Regions from separate parts of the Homo sapiens genome. Here region 2 is linked to region 1. The links are contacts of gene promoters, found by promoter capture Hi-C in human tissues and cell types (Jung and others, 2019). All regions are on one chromosome and are shown on one strand. Each heading gives the region's core, a stretch centred on a gene start or on the middle of the fragment in contact. The rest is flanking DNA. Distances are from core to core; before and after follow the strand shown.

The links. The method cuts DNA at HindIII sites, captures the fragments that hold promoters and counts their contacts. A contact is called where the count stands out against the background at its distance.
Region 2: a contact is called between a fragment that was not itself captured here and the fragment with the promoter of ZNF614 in region 1, in 1 of the 25 tissues and cell types used here (pancreas).

What each region holds. Positions count from the first base shown.
Region 1 is chr19:52,026,831-52,032,757 of GRCh38, reverse strand. ZNF614 (zinc finger protein 614) reads left to right here and starts at 4,379. Exons shown (of 5, transcript NM_025040.4): 1 at 4,379-4,516. It overlaps LOC112268244 (a long non-coding RNA gene), which reads right to left. Exons shown (of 2, transcript XR_002958414.2): 2 at 2,978-5,646. ZNF432 (zinc finger protein 432) reads left to right here. Exons shown (of 5, transcript NM_014650.4): 5 at 1-1,380. RefSeq lists enhancers at 3,892-4,651, 5,122-5,892. The HindIII fragment of the contact is 8,645 bases long and covers 1,795-5,927 here.
Region 2 is chr19:52,833,486-52,839,774 of GRCh38, reverse strand. It overlaps ZNF468 (zinc finger protein 468), which reads left to right. Exons shown (of 4, transcript NM_001008801.2): 4 at 1-1,765. It also overlaps a transcript of ZNF600 not described here. Among named protein-coding and RNA genes, the nearest start is that of ZNF28, 15 kb to the right of the region's middle. The HindIII fragment of the contact is 4,394 bases long and covers 1,268-5,661 here.

The sequences.
Region 1 (5,927 bases), core at 3,130-5,629:
GTCTCATGAAAATGATACATAATGCCGGGCATGGTGGCTTGCACCTGTAATCCCAGCACTTTGGGAGGCCAAGGTGGGTGGATCACTTGAGGTCGGGAGTTCGAGACCAGCCTGACCAACATGGTGAAGCCCCCCTCTCTACTAAAAATACAAAATTAGCCGAGCATGGTGGCTCACGCTTGTAATCCCAGCTACTCTGGAGGCTAAGCTGGAGAATCACTTGAACCTGGGAGGCAGAGGTTTCAGTGAGCCAAGATTGCGCCATTGCATTCCAGCCTGGGCAACAAGAGCGAAACTCTGCCTCAAAAAAAAAAAAAAAAAACCATATTTGAGGACTGTCACAAATCTAAACTCATGATACACTTGATATCTATTCTGTGACAGCATACCTTGCATCATATTATCAATGATTCCATAATTGTAAAGCGGGCTGTTCTTATCACTGATTAAATTTTAATCCTATATATAACACAGGTGTTTTCTGTGCCAATCTGGTGTTATTTATTAGTTCTTACATATTATAGGCCCCAAATTTATTTTTTTCAATTTACTGATAAATGTAATTCAGTATATTTGGATGTGTTTATCCAAGTTACTAGGTACCATTATGTAGTTTACAAAAATGCCTTAAATGTTATTTTTCTAAAATTTGTTTTGAAATAATTCTAGATTCACAAGAGATTACAAAATATACAAAAGTTTCCTGAGTATTCTTTGCTTAGCATCATCAATGTTATCTTACATAACCATAATAATAAAAACCACGGAGTTCTGCTCTTGTTGCCCAGGTTGGAGTGTAATAGCACGATCTTGGCTCACTGCAACCCCGCCTCCCAGGTTCAAGAGATTTTCCTGCCTCAGCCTCCTAAGTAGCTGGGATTACAGGCACCCACGACCACGCTCGACTAATTTTTGTATTTTTAGTAGAGACGGGGTTTCACTGTGTTGGCCAGGCTGGCCTTGAACTCTCGACCCCGGGCGGTCCACCCGCCTCAGCCTCCCAAAGTGCTGGGATTACAGGCATGAGCCACCACGCCTGGCCTCCTCTTGCTACCTCTTTATACTCACACTGTCCTCCCAATATGACCCATGGTAGCCACTGATCCCATTACCCTAATTTTGTTATTTCAAGAATGCTATTAAAATGGAATCGTAAGGTACGCAAGCTTTGAGATAGGGCTTTGTTCACTCAGCAAATTACCCTTAAGATCTATCCAAGTTGTTAGGTGTCTAAATAGTTTTAATTTTTGTTACTGAGTTAGTATTCTTTTAAATGGATGCACCAGGGTTTGTGTATCCATTCACTGTTGATGGACATTTGGGTTGTTTCCAGTGTTTTGCTGTTATAAATAAAGATGCTGTGACTATTTGTGTACCCGATATTGTGCGAACGTTAAGTTTTTATATATTTGGGATAGACACTGGGGGCATGACTGCTGGCGAATATGGTAAATGTGTTTAACTTTATAAGAAATGGCCAAACTCTTTCCCAGAGTGGCTGTACTAGTTTACATTCCCACCACCAATGTGTAAGCATTCCATGCCCTTTCTAGCTCTTGGCATTGCCAGTGTGCTTTAGCTTTCCTATTAGGTGTGTGGTGGTATATGATCATGGCCTCAACTTACACACCCCTAACACAAAATGATATTAAGCATCTCTACATCCACTGAGAACCATATCAAGTAAAATTGTAACTTTTGCTTCCAACCAGCAAACCCAATGTTTAAAACTCAAAAGAATATTATATTTTATAATATATTTACCCTTTCTGTTCCTTTTTCTTCATTCCTGATGTAATATTTCCTTTAGTTATTTCCTTTTTGTGCGAACTTCCTTAATCATTTCTCTTTGAGCAGGCCTGGTGGCAAAAAATTATTAGTTTCCCTAGAAACAGGGTTCCTGTTTTCTCTATCCAGAGTTATTTCCCTTGATCTAATGAGATTTAATCCAGTTTATAAATGGTGAGTTCTCTTTATAAAAGTAATAGACATTTGCCATATAGTATTGTGGCAGAATTCAATCCCTGACTCCATATTGAGTAATTTACTTCTTTGAAAATATTTTTTGAGCTTCTACACCATGGCAGGCATGTTGTAGGCAATGGAGACACATCAATGAACAAAACAGGCAAAGTGCTGGCTTTGATATGACATACAGTCTGGTGAAGGAGACTGAGTAAGATAAATACAAAATCGAATTCAGTTAAGTGCTAGGAAGAAATATAAAGCCTGGTAAGTTCATAGATTGTAACCTGAGTTATTTTAGGAAGAGTTTTCAGGATAGGCTTTTCTGTGCAGATATAATTTGAACCAAAGCCTAAATATACTGTGGGGACACAGCCATCATATTTTTAAGTCCAGAACACTATAGAACTTTCTAAGTGTTTTCTTTGGGGTTCCTGCCTCAGCATTCTCTGAGAAGCTTGTAAAAGAAGGCAAATTCTTGAGTCACTCCCCAGACATTCCAAGCTAGAATTTCTGGGGATGGGGTTCGGACTCTGCATTTATAAAAAGAGCCTTCTTAAATTTGAACATCTCTGCCCTAAATTGTGGATTGGTGCTCCCATCACCATTCCCACACTGTAACAGGATGGATTCAGGGCAGATTGTCTCCAGCAATGAATCAGACAAAAGTGCTCCACCAACCAGGCCCTTGAATCACCTTCCTTGTCCCGTGAATCAGCACAGCCTGCCACGGCAAAGTTTTATCAGCCCACTCCTGGAAATGATCAGTGAAGGTCCCATCATGGGCTGCTCATAGTCCTGTGGACCAGGTGCTAAACTTACCTACCAGAGATTAACATTCCAGATGAACGGGGCTGAAATTTAATCCTGGATGGAATATGTTATAACACTCAAGAAATACGAACATGAAATTCTTATTCTCTAGAAATTACAAAACGTAAGTAAAATGAAGAAATTTTAAGTCACCATAATTGTACGGAACAGTCAAATATTGTTAGTATATTCTCCAGAATTTTTCAAATGCATGAGCATATTTATTTTCTGAAAGAAAACAGCCTATTTTGCATTTATCATGCCATGAACTTATTATACATCATCATACCTATTTTCTAAGATCAACATGTTTTATAATATATTCATGATTATGGTACAAAGATAGTAAAATTAAGTATAAATTGGGAATATTTTTCAAGTAAAAACATGGCATTCTCTACCTATGAACACAAACAATATTAATTCAAACTAAATGTCTTGTTTAACCAATCACAATTTTCCAAAAGATGTTTATGATTTCTTCCAATAACAAGACCATAAAATATATACTATCCTGCAGATCATTTTTTTGTCCTCTGACAAAGTTTTCTTTTTTATAAAACAATTGTAGCATATTCTTTTAAATTGATATATACTCTTACAGTTCAGCAGATGTTCCATAATTTACCAAAGTATTCATCTCTCATTGTAATTCCCTTTTTTTGTAAATTACAAAAGTTGTGGTTAATATTAAGACAGATTTGCCTAGATAGCTTTTAGAATTGCTGTGTCAAAGAAAACGAAAAAATTAAATTGGCTCTAGGTTGCCTTCCAAAAATACAATATTTACTTAAATCTTCTACAGTTACAACGCCAACATCTGCAAAAATAGAACTAATATTTTTTAAGTGTGACTTTTTAAAAAATCTGGAAACATTGCAAAGTAGGATGATCGCATTCTAATAATTTCATATTCTTAAGTGCCCCACTGTCATCTTCCTTTACTTCTGGAAGGAAACATGTAGATATTAACACAGTTGCACCTTCACCTCCTCATCCCCTTCCCCACTGGCAGTGGTTTTAATAGCAAGCCCCATGTGGGTATTAGCATTTAATGGAGCATCACTCCTGTTCTCGGCTTCGTCCATTCAGTCAGAGTCTAATCTAACCCACAAAAGCCTTACCCAGCCCAGAACCCCCGCCCTATCCCCAAATCTAACACTTTCAGTGACCACTGGTTTTGGCAACTCTGTGACCGCTTCCTGGCCAGCACCGTGACTTCTTCAAACCTTGTTTATTTTTCCAAATTGTCCTGGATATGAGCATCTTCTCTGCCGTACGGCTGCTGCCTTCCTCTAAGATGGCCGTGCCCATGGTGCTCCAGCTAAGGCTCCACTCTCAGCTATAATGGGCACAAAGGGCGCCGCCATCTTTTTTCCACAGCAGGCTGAATAGAATGCCACTGCGCCGTGTTGGCCTTGGCTGGGCACCCGACTCTTGAGTGTCCCTTGCAACGAAGAGAGAAAGGCACTGAGGTGACTAAGAGTGATTCCCACAGCCATTATGGCCGCTCCTGTCAGAAACGCTGCGATGGGCGCAGCCCTGTGACCTCATAGAGCGGCGCCCGCAGTCTGAACTCGCGATCCCGGGCAGGCTCCGTGGTCCTCGCCTCGCTTCACGGTCTTTACCGCTCAGCTTCCCGGAGTCCGCGCAGGAGCGCGTCTGAATAGGAAGCGTTTTCGGACGTGGATGCGGCGTTTTGTCGCTGCCAGTGGTGTCTGGAGAGGTTCGGGCTCGGGTGAGTCGAGTTCTGGGCATGGACTCGCGGCCTGTGGGTCTGTGTACCGATGGTGCGTGGAGCGTCCTGATTGGGGCTGTATTTGAACGCAGTCGCTGAGGAAGCGGGGCGTTAATGACGGGTCCTTTGGCTGTAGGGATGAAGAGTCTGAGGAAATCAGCGACGAGTCCGACTCTGTCTGGGTCTGGGGCCCTTGTGAGTCACCCTTTACGGGTGTTGGGCTGGGGGACGGTCAGGTCTTTCCCTTCCCATGAGGCCCTATCTCAGGCTATCACATGGGATATTATCTTTCCTGAAGAATATAACATGTGCTCTTGAAAAAAATGTTTATTTTACTGCTGTTGAGTGCAGTGTTAAATGTTCGTTAAGTCTAGTTGGTTGATAATGTTGTTCAAGTTTTCGGTATCCTTGCTGAGTTTCTATTTGTTTTCTTTATTATTGCAAGTAGGGTAATGTAGTCTTCAATTATTATTGTTGAATTGTCTAATCCTCTCTCATTCTGTTTTGCTTCATACGTTTTTAAATTATCATATTCTTATATATACACCCTTATATTATTATTGCCAGCCATTGTAACCATTGTTGCCACTCACCTAGGCCTTGGTGTCCAGAGTTTTATTGGATATCAGTTAACACACACACACACAATTGACTGCCTATGAGGCTGACTTCAATCTCCAGCTCCTCCAGATATCAAACTAATACCACGTGGTCCAAGGTCTCCCACAGTAAATCACATTATTAGGATAGACAATTTGGCATGGCTTAAATTGCCCTGATAACCAAAGACAGTTTTATCAAGCAGCGTATTCCAAAGGCTTAGAGTTTGCCTCATAGGAACTGTGGGCAAAGGACAAAGCTCTCTTGGGTAAAGTTACTCCTTTAGCGCATAATGTGAAATGAGACAGTTCTTGTGATTTGCTTAGTACATTGGTCTTGACACGAGGTATGTATACCCAAAGAGCTTACAGAGACTTTCGAACCAGTACATGGGCACACGTGGTTTTTAAAGACATTCTTGGAGCCTTCCATGTGTTCTCTTTCCTAAAATTGATCTGTCTGAGAATTCACCTTGAAGGGGGCCACCCCTCCACAACCTGTGGGTGTTTCTTGTCAGGTGGGATGAGAGACTGAGAAAAGAAATAAGAGACAAAGTATAGAGAAAGAAAAGTGGGCCCAGGAGACCAGCACTCAGCATACGGAGGACCCACGCTGGCACTGGTCTCTGAGTTCCCTCAGTATTTATTGATCACTATCTCTACCACCTCGGAGAGGGGGATGTGGCAGGACAATAAGGTAATAGTGGGGAGAGGGTCAGCAGGAAAACATGTGAACAAAGGTCTCTGTGTCATAAATAAGTTTAAGGAAACGTGCTGTGCCTTGATGTGCACGCACACAAACATTTCGGTAC
Region 2 (6,289 bases), core at 2,215-4,714, 810 kb before region 1:
TTGAGGCAAGGTCTTCAGTCAAGCTTCATCCTATGCAAAACATAGGAGGATTCATACAGGAGAGAAACCTCACAAGTGTGATGATTGTGGCAAAGCGTTTACTTCACATTCACACCTCATTAGACATCAGAGAATCCATGCTGGACAGAAATCTTACAAATGTCATCAGTGTGGAAGGGTCTTCAGTCCAAGGTCACTCCTTGCAGACCATCAGACAATTCCTTTTGGAGACAGTTGTTTCAAATGCAGTGAGTATAGCAAACCATCAAGCATTAATTGACATTAGAGTCAAATCAGCCTTGACCTGAGTTTGTTGATTTAACATTGATTTCAAGCATTAATTGCCATTAAACTGTTTATGTTAAGAGGATTGCACTGGGGGCCATGGCTCATGCCTGTAATTCCAGCACTTTGAGAGGCAAAGACAGGTAGGTCACTGGAGCTCACGAGTTTGAGAACAGCCTAGCCAACAGATGGGAGCTACTTTTCCCAGCCTTTATTTTCTTTTTCTTGTTTTTTTTTTGAGATGGAGTCTTGCTCTGTCGCCCAGGTTGGAGTGCAGTGGCACGATCTCAGCTCACTGCAACCTCCTCCTCCCAGGTTCAAGCAATTCTCCTGCCTCAGTCTCCCAAGTAGCTGACACTACAGTTGTGTGCCACCACACCTGGGTAATTTTTTGTGTTTTTAGTAGAGACTGGGTTTCACCGTGTTAGCCAGAATGGTCTCTATCTTCTGACTTTATGATCCACCCGACTCCACCTCCCAAAGTGCTGAGATTACAGGAGTGAGCCACTGTGCCTGGCCTGTTTTTTGTTTCTTTAACAAAAAGTTATAGAGACTTCTATGAGTATTGTACCGAATCTAAATCACAATTGAGTATATAATCATTGAGCGATATTCATTTTTCCAATCAGTATGGGATTTATATCTATTTATACATGTTTTTAATCATTTTGATCAATGTTTATAGATTTCAAGGTACAAACCTCACTTTTTATGTTTATTCCTAAATATTTCTTACTTTAAGTTCTTTAGCAAATGGAATTGGTTTTTAATTTTCTTTTAAAATTATTTATTGTTAATGTATGGAAATTCAACTAATTTTTGGTGCTGTTATTCTATTCTGCAAATAAACTGAATGTGTTTGTTAGTTCCAGTTGCATTTTGGCTGACTCTTTGTGATTTTCTTTACAGAAGGTCATGTCATCTACAAACAAATAAAATTTGACTTCTTTCTTTCTGATTTGGATGAGTTTGATTTCTTTTGCTATTTCATTGTTCTGGCTAGGACAGCCAGTATTGATTGAATAGAAGGGGTGAGAGCATTCTTGCATCATGTGAGATCCTACAGGAAAAGCATTCCGTTTTCCCTGATTGGTTATTTCTGCTGTGGTCATTTCATGGATGGTCTTTGTATTGCTGAGGTAAATTTTCTTCTGTATCTATTTTGTGTGGGATTTCTATGATGACTTGATGTTGACTTTTGTGAAATGCTTTTTCTCCATGTATTGAGATGATGTGGTTTTCATCTTTCATTGTGTTCAAGTGGTATATCACATTGATTTGCTTGACTATGTTGAACCATCCTTGCATCCCAGAAATAAGTGGCACTTGCATATCTACAATCCTTTTAATATCCTCTTGAATACAGTTCGCTAGTACAAGGGGTCTTCAAGAAGTTCATGAAAAAAATACATATTATGTGAAAATTGCACATGATGTCACATTTTCTGCACCAAAATAAACTGGCACAAATCTGTTATAACATGTCTGAACAGGGTCTAGTTTGAGGCACTCAGAAGGGGAAGACATGAGTTTGAAAAAAGAAAGCAGTGTAAATTTTGCTAAAATTGAAACAAGAAGAAACATCAAATTTATGATGAGAGCAGATGCAGTGGCTCAGGCCTGTAATCCAAGCACTTTCAGAGGCCGAGACAGGTGGGTCACGTGAGCCCCGGTATTCAAGACCAGCCTGGGCAGAATGTTGAAACCCCCTTCTCTACAAAAAATACATAAATTAGCTAGGCATGGTGGCACATGCCTGCTGGTTCAGCTTCTGTGGAGACTGCAGTGGGAGGATGGCTTGAGCCTGGGAGTTAGAGGCTGTAGGGAGCCGTGATCATGCCACTGTACTCCAGCATGGGTGACAGAGACAGACAGTGTCTCAAAAAATGAATATGGTGAAATTTGGGTAGAGGAACAATGAAATCATTAATGCTTTATGAAAAGGTTATGGGGGCGATGCCCCAAAGAAATCACTGTTTTGTAAATGCATAAGTCATTTTAAGTTGGGACAAGACAATGTTGACTAAAATGTAGGAATTAGCTTGGTGTGGCGAGTGCCTGTAACACAGCTACTCGGGAGGCTGGTAGAAGAATGGCTTTCATTTTGGAAGCAGAGGTTGCAGTGAGCCGAGATCGCACAACTGCAGTCCAGCTGGGCCACAGCAAGACTCTGTCTCAAATAAAATAAAAAAAATAAAATAAATAAAATACTGCTTCTCAAAAAAGCTTTGATATAATCTTATGAGGTAACATCATTGTTTTGCAACTATAATATGTGTTCAAAATATTCTTCTATGACCCCACATTTCATTAGATATATTTTTTAACCATTTTAAAACTGTTTTTCTCTGAAATTTATTGTGTTCAGTTTACATTGAGGACGGCATGCTTTCTAGTCTGTATCATACATTGGAAACATTTTCTGGTACCTGATAAATGATTTTAGTTTGTTTCAATGTGTACTTGATAAAGATATCAAGGAACTTTTTCTTTATGCTAACATCAAAATTTAGTTGAAGTAGCCTATTATTCCATTTTCTTTCTTTATGTCACCTGATAAAATGGTGAGCTGTGAGCTGCTAAGTAAACGTTCCCCTCAAGTTCCTCTGGTCCATAATATTTTTTGCAGATGTTCAAGGATGGGCAGAATTGACTTGGAACCTTGTTCCAGCAAAGCCCGTGTGTTCAAGAAGAAAACATTTGTTCAGATCTCATTTGTAATGCTGCTTCTCTTTCAGTGTTTTAAACACCTATAGCTAGGGGTTCACAGTTGTGTGTATTTTGAATGTACTACTGTCATTTTTCTGGGAAAATAATTACATGTTTAGGATTCATGCCATCAGGACCTTAGACATTGAAAGAGACATTTCATTTGCTCAGGTGTATAAAATTGTCCTGGAATGTTTTTTTTTCTTTCTTTTTTTGAGACAGGGTGTCACTCGGTCACCCATACTTGCATGCAGTGACACGATCTTGGCTTAACGCAACCTCTGCCTCCCAGGCCCAAATATCCACCCCAGTCAGTTCTTAAATGGCTGAGACCACAGATGCACACCACCACGCCTGGCTAATTTTTTGTACTTTTGGTGAAGTATCTCCTGCTCGAAACAACAGTGACTCAACCAGTAATGTACAGGTGAGGAATGAGACCAGAAAAGCTCAGTCAGAGTGACACTGACCCCTGAAATACTTTGTCAAATAGTTTGTGGCTTTTCCTTTAGGAGAGGGTGATGCTCAGGTGTAATTTGAATTTTTAATAGATTCCTGTCCTACAAAAATGTAAAAAACAAAAATACCGGAATGGAAAAAACAAGAGATTTGACTCAAATTGTCTTGAACCTATTCTTGTCTCTGTCCACACCCACTGCTTTTCCTTATCTCATCTCACAGCTTTAACCCACCTACCCATGTCCCCTGCAGGCCTCTCCACTGAGCTCTACAATCCTGTGTGCAGTTGTCTGCTCACCTCTCTGCTGGGACATCAAACAGGCATCTCCACCTTCACATGTCCAAAAGTGACTTCCTAAACCCCCAAACACATTCCCTTGCAGTCTGCACATCTCAGATGAGGGTGACTGTGTACGTCCGGAAACTTAGCCGAACTTGACAGCATGTATTTTAAATATGGGAAATAAATTACTTTATTTGTAAGTGTTGTAATTTGTAATGTAAAGAGAAATTTGCATGTATACATGAAAGGACTGAGAAGATACATCACTTCTGAAATTCTTTCTTTGTGTGTGTGTTGGAGTTTGGCTCTTCTCGCCCAGGCTGTAGTGCAGGGCTTTATCTCTGTGGGTGGAGGATCACCCAGCTGCTGAGGCAAGAGACTGAAGGCACAAACTGTTTCAGTATAATAGAGAAAATAGTTAGAATAAGAATAGTCATAATACAAATTAGATATAGAGATGATCATGGACAATTATCAATCATTATTATAAACATTATTAATCATTAGCTTTTAATATTACTCTTTGTTGCATTACTAATATAACCTAGGAATAACCGGCAGGTATAGGGTCAGGTGCTGAAGGGACATGGTGAGAAGTGACCTAGAAGGCAAGAGGTGAGGCCTCTGTCACGCCCGCATAAGGGCCGCTTGAGGGGTCCTTGGTCAAGCGGTAACGCCAGTGTCTGGGAAGGCACCTGTTACTTAGCTGACCACGAAAGGGGGTCTCCTTTCCTTGGAGGAGTCAGGGAACACTCTGCTCCACCAGCTTCTCGTGGAAGGCTGGATAGTATCCAGGCCTGCCCGCAGTCATCCGGAGGCCTAAACCCCTCCCTGTGGTGCTGTGCTTCAATGGTCATGCTCCTTGTCCACTTTCATGCTCCTCCCGTACTCCTGGCTCCTCTTTGAAGTTCGTAGTAGATAGCGGTAGAAGGAATAGTGAAAGTCTTGAAGTCTTTGATCTTTCTTATAAGTGCATAGAAGAAAACGCTGACGTATGCTGCCTTCTCTCTCTGCTTCGGCTACCTAAGAGGGAAGGGCCCCCTGTCCTGTGATCACATGATTTGCTTCACCTTATCAATCACTTAGAAGATTCACCCTCCTTACCCTGCCCCCTTGTCTTGTATGCAATAAATATCGGCGCGCCCAGCCATTTGGGGCCACTGCTGGTCTCCACGTCTTGATGGTAGTGGTCCCCCGGGCCCAGCTGTTTTCTCTTTATCTCTTTGTCTTCTGTCTTTATTTATTACAATCTCTTGTCTCTGCACATGGGGAGAACACCCACTAAGCCCCAAAGGGCTGGACCCTATAGATCTCGATTCACTGCAACCTCCTTCTCCCAGGTTCAAGCAGGGAGGTGACTTCCAGGTCACAGATAAATGAGGCACAGATGGTTGCAATCTTTTAAGTTTTTGTTTTGTTTTGTTTTGTTTTTTTGAGATGAAGTCTCATTTTGTTGCCCAGGCTGGAGTGCAGTGGTATGATCTCAGCTCACTGCATCAGCCTCCCACAGTGCTGGGATTACAGGCATGAGCCACTGTGCTGGGCCCTTCTTTTGAGTTTCTGATTAGCCTTTTGAAGGAGGCACTCAGACATGCATCTATATCAGGGAGCAGAGGGGTGACTTTGAATAGAAGGGGAGTCTGGTTCCCTAAGCAGTTCCCAGCTTGACTTTTGCCTTTTGCTTAATGATTTGGGGGCTCACAGATTTATTTCCTTTCACACAGCCCATCATTCACCCCACCTCTCGTCCACGTTGCCTGTTCTGTGTGATTATTTTTGTGCCTTTGTCATCCACTGTCTGGATCCTGGTGAGAACAAGGCCCCAAGGGGAGGGCAGAGCCAGAATGTGGGGCTGTGCTGGGCTCACCCCCTCTGAGTGGAGCTCAACCCTGGCTTCACATTAGAGTCTAGAGGCATTTTGCAAATAGAGCTTTTGTGCTGCTTTAGCAGGGATTCTTATTCTGATGGGATGGAACCCACCCTCAGTAATACCTGCAGTGGCGCAGTTGCTTGTCATCTGTGTGCAGCATTGAGCATCGAAGCTCTGAGTCCTCCATTTCTGGGGGCTGAGCTCAGCCTGTGATCCACAGAGAAGTGAGGGGTTGTCCTCTGGATGGGGTTTGATCAGGGATGAGTGTGTGCCCTGAAGAGGAGATCAGTCCAGCCCAGCTCCCCACTGCTGCCTCGTGTGTGGTGGCTTCTCCAGGAGGGGGGCGAGATCTGAAGACTGGGGTCAAACATACACTTGTAGGTCTTCCGGTGGGACTTTCTTATCTCTGCATGATCTCTGGTGCAGTGGGCCTCAGAGGACCATCTTTCTACAGGGTGACATCTCCCCTGTCTGTGTGTTTTTGTCACAGGAAGGGAGTGAGTCATTTCTACGTGAAGTTTCATACTTTTTTCACGTACAGGATTGATTTCTAAAGACTCATGTTACATGAGGAAGCAGCTCAGAAGAGGAAAGGAAAGGAGCCAGGCATGGCTCTTCCTCAGGTGAAGTGATATTCCTCTTTGGATTAATCTGTCTCTTTCCTTTCTGAAACACCAGGTATT